Linked DNA regions of Homo sapiens: all the other regions are linked to region 1. Evidence: promoter capture Hi-C in 16 types of primary human blood cells and fetal thymus (Javierre and others, 2016). All regions are on one chromosome and are shown on one strand. The core of a region is centred on a gene start or on the middle of the fragment in contact, and the rest is flanking DNA. Distances in the headings are between cores, read along the strand shown.

Evidence for each region. The method cuts DNA at HindIII sites, captures the fragments that hold promoters and counts their contacts. A CHiCAGO score of 5 or more calls a contact.
Region 2: a contact is called between a fragment that was not itself captured here and the fragment with the promoter of GK in region 1, in 1 of 17 cell types (naive B cells). The highest score is 6.0, in naive B cells.
Region 3: a contact is called between a fragment that was not itself captured here and the fragment with the promoter of GK in region 1, in 2 of 17 cell types (total CD8 T cells and non-activated CD4 T cells). The highest score is 5.3, in total CD8 T cells.

Annotation. Positions count from the first base shown.
Region 1 is chrX:30,651,379-30,655,204 of GRCh38, reverse strand. GK (glycerol kinase) reads right to left here and starts at 1,782. Exons shown (of 21, transcript NM_001205019.2): 1 at 1,590-1,782. The coding sequence starts at 1,667. RefSeq lists a silencer at 1,693-2,112. The HindIII fragment of the contact is 2,269 bases long and covers 138-2,406 here.
Region 2 is chrX:30,862,357-30,866,182 of GRCh38, reverse strand. The region is part of intron 4 of TAB3 (TGF-beta activated kinase 1 (MAP3K7) binding protein 3); the gene reads left to right. Among named protein-coding and RNA genes, the nearest start is that of TAB3, 25 kb to the left of the region's middle. The HindIII fragment of the contact is 1,792 bases long and covers 735-2,526 here.
Region 3 is chrX:30,843,475-30,847,300 of GRCh38, reverse strand. TAB3 (TGF-beta activated kinase 1 (MAP3K7) binding protein 3) reads left to right here. Exons shown (of 11, transcript NM_152787.5): 8 at 657-750. Among named protein-coding and RNA genes, the nearest start is that of TAB3-AS1, 11 kb to the right of the region's middle. The HindIII fragment of the contact is 3,989 bases long and covers 1-3,826 here.

The sequences.
Region 1 (3,826 bases), core at 533-3,032:
TATGAATATAAGACAAAGTGAAACCTGCCCTGGGTGATCAAAAGATAAACAGTGCAAGAGACAGTGGAACTATGCTTGGCAGCTCAAACCAGGGTAAGTCATTAAATAAGATTCAAACCAAAATTAGACTGAAAGCTTCTCACTTTAGACAAAAAAAGATATGTCAGGATCAAAGCACAAATGCAGTTTTTAGTCAAGTGCCAGCTCTGACAGAACTTTGAAAAAATATATACATTGTATGTATAATGCCTATGTATAAATATACACATATGTGTATATATGTACAGATATATACATACTAAATAACACAGGAAAACATGATTTGCGGTAAAGTGAAGAGCTAAATAATCATTAAATATTTACATCAACTTGCCAAGTTAGTCAAATATCCATTGAAAGCATGGGCTTTTATCAGCAGGCATTCATTTCAATTACTTTTATTTATTTTTTATTTATTTTTATTTTTTTGAGACAGAGTCTCGCTCTGTTGGCTAGGCTGGATTGCCCAGGCTGGAGTGCAGTGGTGTGATCTCTGCTCACTGCAACCTCCGCCTCCCGGGTCCAAGTGATTCTCCTGCCTCAGCCTCCCGGGTAAGTAGGATTACAGGCGCCCGCCACCACGCCCAGCTAATTTTTGTTATGCCAGGTTGGCCAGGCTGGTCTCGAACTCCTGACCTTAGGTAATCCACCCGCCTCAGCCTCCCAAACTGTTGGGATTACACGTGTAAGCCACCGCGCCCGGCCTCAATTACTTTTAAATTATCTTACTGAACTCTGTGCTAGGTCACTTTAAGAGCAAGTTTACTAATTGCACAAAAATTAATCAGCAGTCACTTAAATAGCAATCTTTTGTGGTAAAACTGTGCTGTCACACATGGTAAATAAAAAGAGAAACAGAATTTCCGTGTCGCATTATGCTGTGAAGCACAGTAAGGACAATCATTTGTTTGTAATGGGCAAAGTCTCAGAACTGAAATTTGCGAGTCTTCGGAATTAAATAAAGATTATGGCAAAACCAGTGTAGTGTGACTGTTTCCTAATTTGTTCTGCCACCCTCCCCAGTATTCAACCCTCTGCAATTTTTATGGGAGAGGATGACAACGCATCATCACTCCAATACTTTATTCGTTCTACTGCTGGAAAGGACGCTGTGTTAGCTACCACAGCCGTGACACAGCTTTCCCCCCATCCAAGGACGTCCTGTGTCTCGCAGGCCAAATGTTCCTGGGGAAGACCGCGGTAGCCGTCAATGTGGCCACCTGTCCCCTACTGCAAGCGGGCCGCTCTGCGCGGATGCTCGGAGAGTCCCTGCTCCCTTTGGGGGAAGAGTCACCCCATTAGTAGGTGACCCAGCTCCGCCACCAAAACTGCGACTGTTCAACTCGGCCATGGGGGTCATGAGAGGCCGAGGTCCCCCAGGCCTGGCTGGGGCATCCCCAGTGTGGCAGGTCCCGTTCCGGCCTCCCTCCTTGCCCAGCGGCCGGGGCACCGGGCCGGAGAGATGCGGGATGGGGACACAACAGCCACCCCCTCCGTCCCCCGACTCCCGCCCCGGCTCAGCGCCTCTTCACATGTCACCCCGGGCTCACCAAAAAGCGCGTCGAACTGGTGCCCTGGTCCACCGCCCCCACCAATGGCCCCAAAACTGCCTTCTTTGAGGCTGCCATGAAACCAGCTTCAGGTCGGCCGGCGATTGCGGCCGGTTTCCTGGGTGACGGCGGCGGGAGGGGGAGGGGCAGGTGACGAGTCCAGAGATCGAGGCCGCGCGCGTCCGCTGAACGCTCGGACCGCGCTCGAGGCGGCCCCTTTACCCGCGCGCAGCCTTCTCACCCCGCCCCTCCGGCCCAGGCCCCGCCCCCCACCGCGTACCCCCAAGGCTCCAGGGGCGTGTCAGGGGGGGTGGGGGTGGGCGCTGTCACCTGGGCTGGCCAATCAGCAAACGCAAAAGAGCCGAACGCTCGGACAGGCAGAGGGCGATGAGACGTCACGGGGGCGGGGCCTGGGCGCGGTGGAGGCGGCGGCCCGCGCAGTAGGTCACGTGGGGGCCCGGCGAGCGGACAGCAGAGCCATCCAGCTGCATGGCATGGGGCGGAGACGAGTACTGCCCTTTGGCAGGCAGCGCTCCTGGCCGGCGAAAAGAGCGCACTTCCACTAGTGTCCTGGGGCTCGCCTCCATAGGGGTCTCAAAGTGTGTAGAACTGCTTGTTCCCTCCAGTGGGCTGTGCAGAGTCGTGCAGCGACGTGAGTCGCTGTGTGGACCTACCCGGCCCGGCCTTCCCGCGTTTCCCACGCCCCGCCCACCTCCCTGCATCTGGCCCCTGGTAATCGTAATCATTCCTTTGGCTGGGATTGACCCCATATAGGGTCACCTCAAGGAGCAACGCGAATCCTTCACCGTTGCAAGCTTTTCAGGGACAAGAAACGCGGAAGTTCTTTCGGTTTAGCATTTAAGGAAAGCACCCAAAATCAACCTCCCCAAGTTCCTCTATCGACCATTCAGGCAGAAGGCGCCCGGCACCACTCCGTCCTGACGCGCCCTTGCTCCTCGTTTGGCCTCACTCTGCGGTCCCCTCCCCCACACGCCATTTCCTCTCCCTCCATTAACTGCTTTGGATGGCAGGGGACAGAAAAGGGACTCTCCCTTGACCTTGAATTTACCTTGCCCGGATCCTTCTGGATCCTGTGTTCTAAGGGCTTTCAAACTTGGAACCAAGACCCACACTGTGAAACAGTTTACAAAACAAACCCAGGCTCCAGTGTGTGTGGGCGGGGAGCACATTTGTAGTTACAATTGTTACACATGTAAATACATGTTATATACATCTAATATACATTTATGTATGTATAGAAAAACTTTCCAAAACAATATTTGTCCTTCCACAGTATGCATTCTGTATTTTTATTCTATGGCATATCATTTTTTTTTAATGCTGATTGAAAATCACTAAATTGCTTTTGTAACCCACCATGCTCTCTATCAATTTTAAAAGCACTCCGCTATACCCACTGTCATTTCTTTCCATCCCTTTCCCAAATCTCTGTGTTCTGGAACATCATTTCTTTTCCTTTTTTTTTTTTTTCCTTTCTTACCTTGCTCTACACCACGTCACTTGTCCATCTCTGTTTGTATAGTTTTACCACACATGATCTGAAAGCAAATTTTCCTAAACACCGTCTAGACCTCACATTCTAATGTTCCAGATGAAGCCTGCTTATGGACATACTAGATTTAATAACTATCGATAAACTGGCTTGCTTTAATATAAGAGTGAAGATGAGTCAGTATCTCTGAATTTCCTGGAAGAGGAAAAGAGGGAGACAGGCATATAAGCAAGGAACCAGGCCAACTTGCCTCTAAAAACAGTGAAAGGCATTAGTTGAGTGAATGATATAGAAAAGGATTTTCTTGGTTCTAGAAGGCAGTAAAAACAAAGCCACCAAACCTACCACATCGATCCATTAAAAAAAAAAAATCCCTGACCACGTTTGAACTTTCACATACTTTTGACTCTCAGATTCCAACAGGACAGCAAATTATTTGTTTGGCAGCACAATGGGATCAGAATTCAGACATTTCAGAATAAGTTGGGCTAGATGTACATGGGGGATTCTTAAATTTGTTGATCCTATGGTTCCTACAACAATGTGTATTCCACATCCTCATTCCTTTCACCAAAACAAAACTGAAAAGCCAAAATATTGGCCTTTCAGGCGTCACATCTCAGCACCCTGTTAGAGATGAGGTAAAGATAAGGGGAAAGGTGTTAGATGGAAGAGTTGAGCTCAGCCTATCTTAAATATTTACTGTGAACTTTTTTTTTTTTTT
Region 2 (3,826 bases), core at 381-2,880, 210 kb before region 1:
GGCCATATTTAAATTGAAAATGTTTTTGTGGATTATTTTAATATTATTTCAGTCTCATAGTATATCTCTTGAGACTTACAGAATATGAGATAGATGCAGTGAATATGTGACTATTTCAAAATGGTCTCTACTGTAATAAAAATCCTATAGGATGACTGTTTCATAAATTATTTAGAAGGCTTATTTAGGGGAAATAATAACTATCGTATTCCTCTCCCCCTTGTTATTTGGTAGCACCTTTACATATATGCATGAAAAATCCTGAAAATGGAACTCTTATCTCTGCCAGTAAAAGACCATTTGTTATGCCTCAATATCAGCCACTTTTTGTTACTGTTTAACTTGAAGAATTCACACTGTAGTACAAAAACTCTTCTGTTTTAAAAGCAAGGTTTGCTTTAAACTGTTGTTAAGAGTTATGACATCATCAGAGTCTTACCAGGTAGCCAGTAGTACAGAAGAATAATGGTTAAGAGCATAACCTTAAATTTGTATCCTAGCTTTGCTACTGGTTGACTGTGTAACCACAGGCAATTTATTTGCCCTCTCTGAACTTCAAGTTTCCTTATTTGTAAAACGTGGATGATAATATTACCTCTCTCATGGAAGTATTTTAGGGATTAAATGAGGTAAAGCACTTAGCACAGTACTTGATACTCAGATACGGCTCAGTAAATATGATCTAAAATCAAAACCTCCAAAGCAGCAAAAAAATAGATGAAAGTTTGAAAGCTTTATACTCATATACATACTGTGTTTTGTTCAACAATTATTACTGGACCAGACCAACCAGAAAAATTAATGATTCTTTTATTTTGCAATCCTAAAAGTTCTCTCAAGACAAGGCTAACTTTTCTTCAAACCTGGGAAATGCTCACTCACCTCATTACCTTAATATGCTAGCAGTGGCTGTCAGCCCAAGAAAGTATTGCCTCTCTAGAGGCCACTTGGGGGTGCTACTGAGATTTTATGGGCGGGGCCAGAATGCTAAATACCTTTCATTGCCTGGGATAGTCTTGCATGACGAGGAATTCTTGTGCTCCAAAATTATTGCATCAATAGTATGCCGTTGAGACACACTAGAGTACACTGATACTTACCATTGTATCTTTAAACCTTTCTGCAGAACACATTTCAGGTGTCACAAACCCAGCAGGTATCTAGATGAGTGAAGCAAGGCCAGGCTGCAGTGTTTGGAATCAGCTACGGAGTATAGGAACTAGGCAAACTGTCCTTCCTAAAAGGGGAGTGGTGCCTTAGTTTCAGCCAGTTGTTGCCTGCAGTTGCTAGATCACGTGATTTTTCAGAGAAAAGCTAGATATGTACATTTTTATGTGATGTCTCCCAGTTTTAAATGTAGCTCAACTTTAAAAAAAAAACACACACACACACACACTGTGATGGCCAAACCAGGCAGATCTGTGGGCTGAATTCATTCCACAGACCATTGGTTTGCAACCTCTGATATAACTGTTTCAGGAAGTGACCTAAAATTCTGACAGAGGTAAAACACTCTGGGCCATAATGGCACCACCCTGTTTATTTGCTGAGCTCAGGAAAAACTGTGGAAACAAAGCACTAGATGTCGACATCATTTTCTAGAGTGTGGGGAATTGTGGCATTAGAGCAGAGCTCTGGGGGAGCTTCCTCTCTGATTGGGAGGAGCAATTCTGTTGGGAGACATCCTAGCAATTGATTTTTCAGGAACAGAAACCACTGTGCCTTGTGTTACCAGCAGTCTTGAATTAGGGAGGTGGCTGCACCACTGAAGGAAGCCTCTGATTCCACTGCTAAGCATAGCATCTGGGCCCCATAGTCTGTCTTGCCTTTAAGAAAAGAATCCTCACAAAGCTGACATGCAATAAAGGCTTAAAACTCTGCAGAATCTCTTGGTTCATGTGGCCCCTGAACTGTGTGATGATCATAGGGTTTATGTCTTTAGTGTTTCTTCTTTCTTGATCTAGGGTTACCGCCTACACAGCTCCACAATCCACAGCTGTGGCCATCTGGACTTTAGTGGGGGTGTTTCAAGGGTGTCCCAGGAGTTTGGTCATGCCTGAGCCTAGCCTGTACAGCTTAGATACTGCTTGAGTCCTCTGTCTGGCTTTAAAGTGACAAATCATCATTCAGCACTTATTGTATAAAAAATAGCCCATTATAATGTTAAGAAACAAACTCAATGTGTATTTTGCTTAGTAGTTGTTGCCTACATTGATATATTTGGACAAGAATAGATTATATGCTTTGATCTGCATGGTAGCCACATCTATAATATGACACTATATGACAGTGTTTTCATTTTGTTTCTATTGGATTAAATACAAAAGTACAGCATAATACTTTACTGTAAAACTTTGTGTTTTTAAAGGAAACTGACTATATTAGGCCATTCTTATGTCACTGTAAAGAAACACCTGAGGCAGGGTAATTTATAAAGAAAAGAGGTTTAATTGGCTCAGGATTCTACAGGCTGCATAAGCATGGCACCAATATCTGCCCAGCTTCTGGTGAGAGCCTCAGGAAGCTTACAATCATGGCAGATGGTGAAGCAAGAGCAGGCATGTAATATGGCAAAAGCGGGAGCAAGGCGGGTGAGGGAGAGGTCCTAGAGTTTTAAACAATCAGATCTTGAGTGAATGGAACAAGGACTCACCTAGGATGGTGCTTAACCATTTACAAGGGCTCTGCCCCTATCATCCAGTCACCTCCCATCAGGCCCCAACTCCAACATTGGGAATCACATTTCAACATGAGATTTGGAGGGGACAAACATCCAAACTGTATCATTGACTTAATTTATTGGCTGGAATATTTTCTGTTTGTAAACAGAAAGCCTCCCAGTGAACAAAATGGAAGTTGCTTTTTTAAAGTATTTTAACATGATATAGTTATCAAAAAATTAAGTTTGAGAGTGTTATATATTACTGTGAAATACTAAATGATTATTCATGTCAGTTAGCGCTGATGTGAGTGAATGTTTGTACAGGGCAGAGTGCTAACCACTATTAAGATTACATACATAATCCCTTAAGAAGGATATGTGTTTACCAGTTTAGATTCCTATTTGTTGTGAAAAGTCAGTCTACTATTAATCATCTTTTCAGATGGTAGCCATTTTTGTAAGCTGTTGGCTTCCATTTGAAAGATGCTTTAACATGTTTCTTCAAAGGAAAGTATTTATAACCATTTTTTAAAAAGGCATTTTCTTCTTGTGTGTTTAAACAGCTAACTTATTTGTACAAGAATTATTTTTTCCTTCCCTCTCAGTCTTCCACCTCACCACACACCTTTAGCTCCCTATGTGAATGATAAACTTAATGAGGGTTTGCTCCTTAGCCAGTCAAAGAAAGGCACTCATCATTAGAAATGTCTCTGATACCTACTAGTGACACAGTGGAAAGAACACAGACTTTGGAGCAGGCAGGCGTGGATTTGAGTCATGATTCTGCCATATGTTCATTCTTTGAGTTCATTTTCTTATTTGTAAAATGGAGATAATCATAACTACCTTTGAGGGCATATTATTAGCTACCAGTAAATGGTAGCTAATTATAGTGATAAAAATAATGGTAACCTTGGATTCAGTAGCATCTGAGGTTTCTGAAGGCTCTGACAAAGCTAGGTGAGAGCTGGCCGCTCTCAAGATCTCTGAAGTATATGGAGCCTATGCTTTTGACACCTGAAGCCTGTCTGTCCGTGTTTTGATTCTTCTTGCCTTTTCTTCTAGCTCATAAAAAAGACAATGGTATTGCCCTTGTATTTTAAAGGCTTGTAATTAAGGTTGGAAAATGAATAAAACCGTTTTTGGGAGCCATTGGGAAAGCTG
Region 3 (3,826 bases), core at 606-3,105, 190 kb before region 1:
GAAGTTTTCATGTGCTAGAGTAACTGCCTCCTTCAATCTAGAAAAAATATGACAAAAATATTTATATATGAATTTATATAGGAGTCTTTTATATAAATCCTGGCTCTACCAATTACTAGCTTTATAACTTTAAGAAAATTATATAACCTCTCTGTGCCTCAGTTTCCTCATCTATAAACTGGGCACAATATTAGTACCTACCTTAAAGGATTGTTAAGAAGAAGGAATGAGAGAATTCTGGTAAACACCGTACTGTTGTAATTTTTACCAGGCTGGACAAGACTAAGATCATGGACATGACTCGTTTAACAGGTTGATTCTTACAGTTTCCCTTACCATGAAAACATAGACACAAAATATTCTCAGTGCTCTATGATTAAAACGGTAGTATCTTGTATGGTAGAACACAGTCCACTACTGCAGCTCGCCACTTTATATGCAGATTTTGTTTATATGTGGCCATTTTGATGTCCCCATTTTACCCGACTATTCCTTTAAAAACATATACATAGGACTTCTTAAACATGCCCTCTTATGGACTAAGGCCGTATTCTTGGTAATACCCAATCATTACAATTAACATGAAACGCAGTTCTTAAATGTTGGGCTTGATAATGACTTTCCCACAATTGCTATTTTGGGTCCTTTCTTACTAGCCTGAGGAAATGACAAGATTGAGAAGCATGAACAGACAACTCCAGATAAATGTTGACTGTACACTGAAAGAAGTTGACCTCCTTCAATCTAGAGGTATAGACTTGATTATTTGGTAAACCATAAGTAATAGTGTGGTATTTTAAGCTGCTTAAATAGCAATAACTTTGGTTTTGTAGATTTAAGAGACAGTTTTTATCCGTAAGATTACAATCCTGGGAAAGAGATCCCCCTGTCCCATGGTCATGGATCAGATTTGGGGATGAAAAAATAGTTTTACTTCGGCAGTTTCATCAAGTTCTTATCATTTAGACTGTTCTATGTTGTTACTTTGCATTTATCCTCTTTTTGTCATTTACTGTGAATATTTTATAAATTGATGGGTTTTAATTCTAAAACTTAGTAGAGTTCATATTATGTGATAGACATCTAAAATATCTGTAAAAAGGGATCCCAAATCAGAGTATCAGATTTCTCAGTTTTAAAATAAACTCTATATATGTTATTTTTCATGTTATGTTATGTGAAAACATTCAACTATAATCATAGTTTTAGTTTTTTGGATTTTTTTACAGAAGTATACTACAGCAGAAGCTCTCTTAAACTTTCATTTACCCAACTCACCAGATTAGAGATGGTCTTCATTTTCTGTGGAAAATATACTGACTGATGTCCACAGCTGCTGCATACTTTTGACTAGTAGGCTGCATTCTGGTAGGCCCATGAATATTGCTCCCATCGGTTGAATTGTCTGCTTACCAAGAGTTGATTCTGTCCCCAAACCTGTTTATGCCAGTTATTGTATTTCTGCAATTTAATGTTTCATAAACTGACATGAAGGAGAAAGCCGCTCTTTCTATGAAAGCCAAAGGCAAATCACTCAAAAAATAGGGATTGTGAATTAGATATGGGTGAAAACAACTGAAAAAAGTCTAAAAGGATTCTGTACTCAAATTGCATTATAAGTGTTCTTAATATCTTTCTTGCTCCATTCTAAAGCAATCAAAATTATAGATGAGGGTTCAGCAAACTAGGGCCTGTTGCCTGTTTCTGTGAATAAAAGTTTTAGTGGAGCGATAGCCATGCCCATTTGTTTACATATTGCCTATGGTTGCCTTTGTGCTTCAACAGCACAGTTGACTACTTGCAACAGAGACTCTATCACAGGTCCACAAAGTCTAAAATATTATCTGGCCCTTGACAGAAAAGGTTTGCCAACCTCTGCTGTAGGTCATCATGGGTGTGGTTTATGTAAGAAATACAATATGGAACCCCAGCCAACAGACACGTAAAAATTAGGTCTTTATCTAACTAACTTTAAAATATAGCTATATACAAGTGTTTTGTTACGTTAAAGTTGACGTGTAATTTTTCTTAATTCTGTGTATTAATCAGCTTTCCTGCCCCCCATCCCCCACACTTAACTTTTCTTGATTATGGCAGCTAAGACTTTCTACAGTGTTTTAAGAGTATATAATAAAATATCTCACTGCCATTTTTAGGCAAGATTAAACAAACAGTAGGCTGGGCACAATGGCTCATGCCTGTATTCCCAGCAGTTTGGGAGGCCAAGGTGAGAGGATCACTTGAGCCTAAGAGTTAGAGACCAGCCTGGGCAACATAGGGAGACCCCATCCCTACAAATAATTTTTTAAAAATTAGCTAGGTGTGGTGGTGTGTGCCTGTGATCCCAGCTACGTGGGAGGCTAAGGCAGGAGGATCACCTGAGCCCAGGAGGTCAAGGCTGCAGTGAGCCGTGATCACACCGCTGCACTCTAGCCTAGGCAACAGAAGGAGACTCGGTCTAAAAAACAAAGAGCGAGAGATTAAAGATTAGTGGCAGGTGAACCCAAAAGACACGGCATTATCTGAACAACAGACAGAAGCAAATTTGAATGTGAGAATTGAGCAATCTAGTCAGGTACCCTTAAAGTCATTTTCAGAAGCCTAGTCACTCTATAGCCCACTAACTTGAAGCAATCAAAGAATTACTATGCATGATGTAGGGGTTACATAAACTATTGCTACTATATTTTAGAAGATTGCATCAATTTCTTTTACTTGTGTGGTCTTTGGAGCAAAACAAACAGTAAAACATTTGGTTAGGATACTTATAGTAAGCCTTTTGTGATCTAGAAATTAGAACATGAGCTGTAACAAGTAATTGAAGAAATACATATGCAGCTTCTTAAAGCATAAAAAGATTCAATTAATACATCAAATAGCACTGTGGCTTTTATGAGCTATCACAGCAATTATTTTCAGAAAATTATCTTAAAACAGCATATTCAAGTGGATAAAACATTTGTGAAAGGGCCTGCAAGGGAAACCACTATTAAGGTTTTATAAGCAAAGAGCTGTGTTTTTTGTCTGCATTGGACAATGAGCTCTTTGGGATACTTAGGCATTTCTAAATCTCTTTTCATAACGAATCTAAATGTATCCATTTTATACTAAATTCTACTCTTCCACACTGCAGAAAACTTTTTATACTGAGTTTCCAATCTAAACTTTTAAGCTAGGGAAGGAATCTAAACCTTTTTCGGTGGTGACGGGGGGAGGCAGGGGAATAAGCATTTAGAATAGATGCAAATCAGTGCATGACTTGATGAAAACCAGCTTTTTTGTGATTTTTGGTAAGGAAAACTTGTTGGGAAAAAAAAAAGTAGATCTGGAAATGAAGAGATTTAATATATTTAAACTATCAGTATTAGTACCATACAGCATCTTCTATAAATAAGTATGGCTACAGTTAACTGTAATCGTTTAGAACAAGCAGAGCACAGTGATAGGTTCACAGAAGTGAAGGCAGGACCCAAAACCAACCTTGGAGGAGACACAGCAGGAGATGTGGCTGAAATACAGACACTAGACCAGGGAATGAACATTTGAAGACAGACAGGTGAAAATTTTGTGGCAAGACAAAATTCTCAGGTATTGTTCTATCTATTCTGAAATTGGCACCTTTTATCATTGATAAATCTGTAGGAAACATTTAACACTTAGTGTAAGATTCTCCTTTTCTTGAAAATAAGAATACATAAACTGCTGATGTTATTTCACATTTATTGAGGTTGCTTAGTAGTCTCAAAATATAACTTGATTAATCCTTGTAAATGTTTATATTTGGCTTTTTCTGTAGTTCAATTTATAATGAATTTTTAAGGTAAAT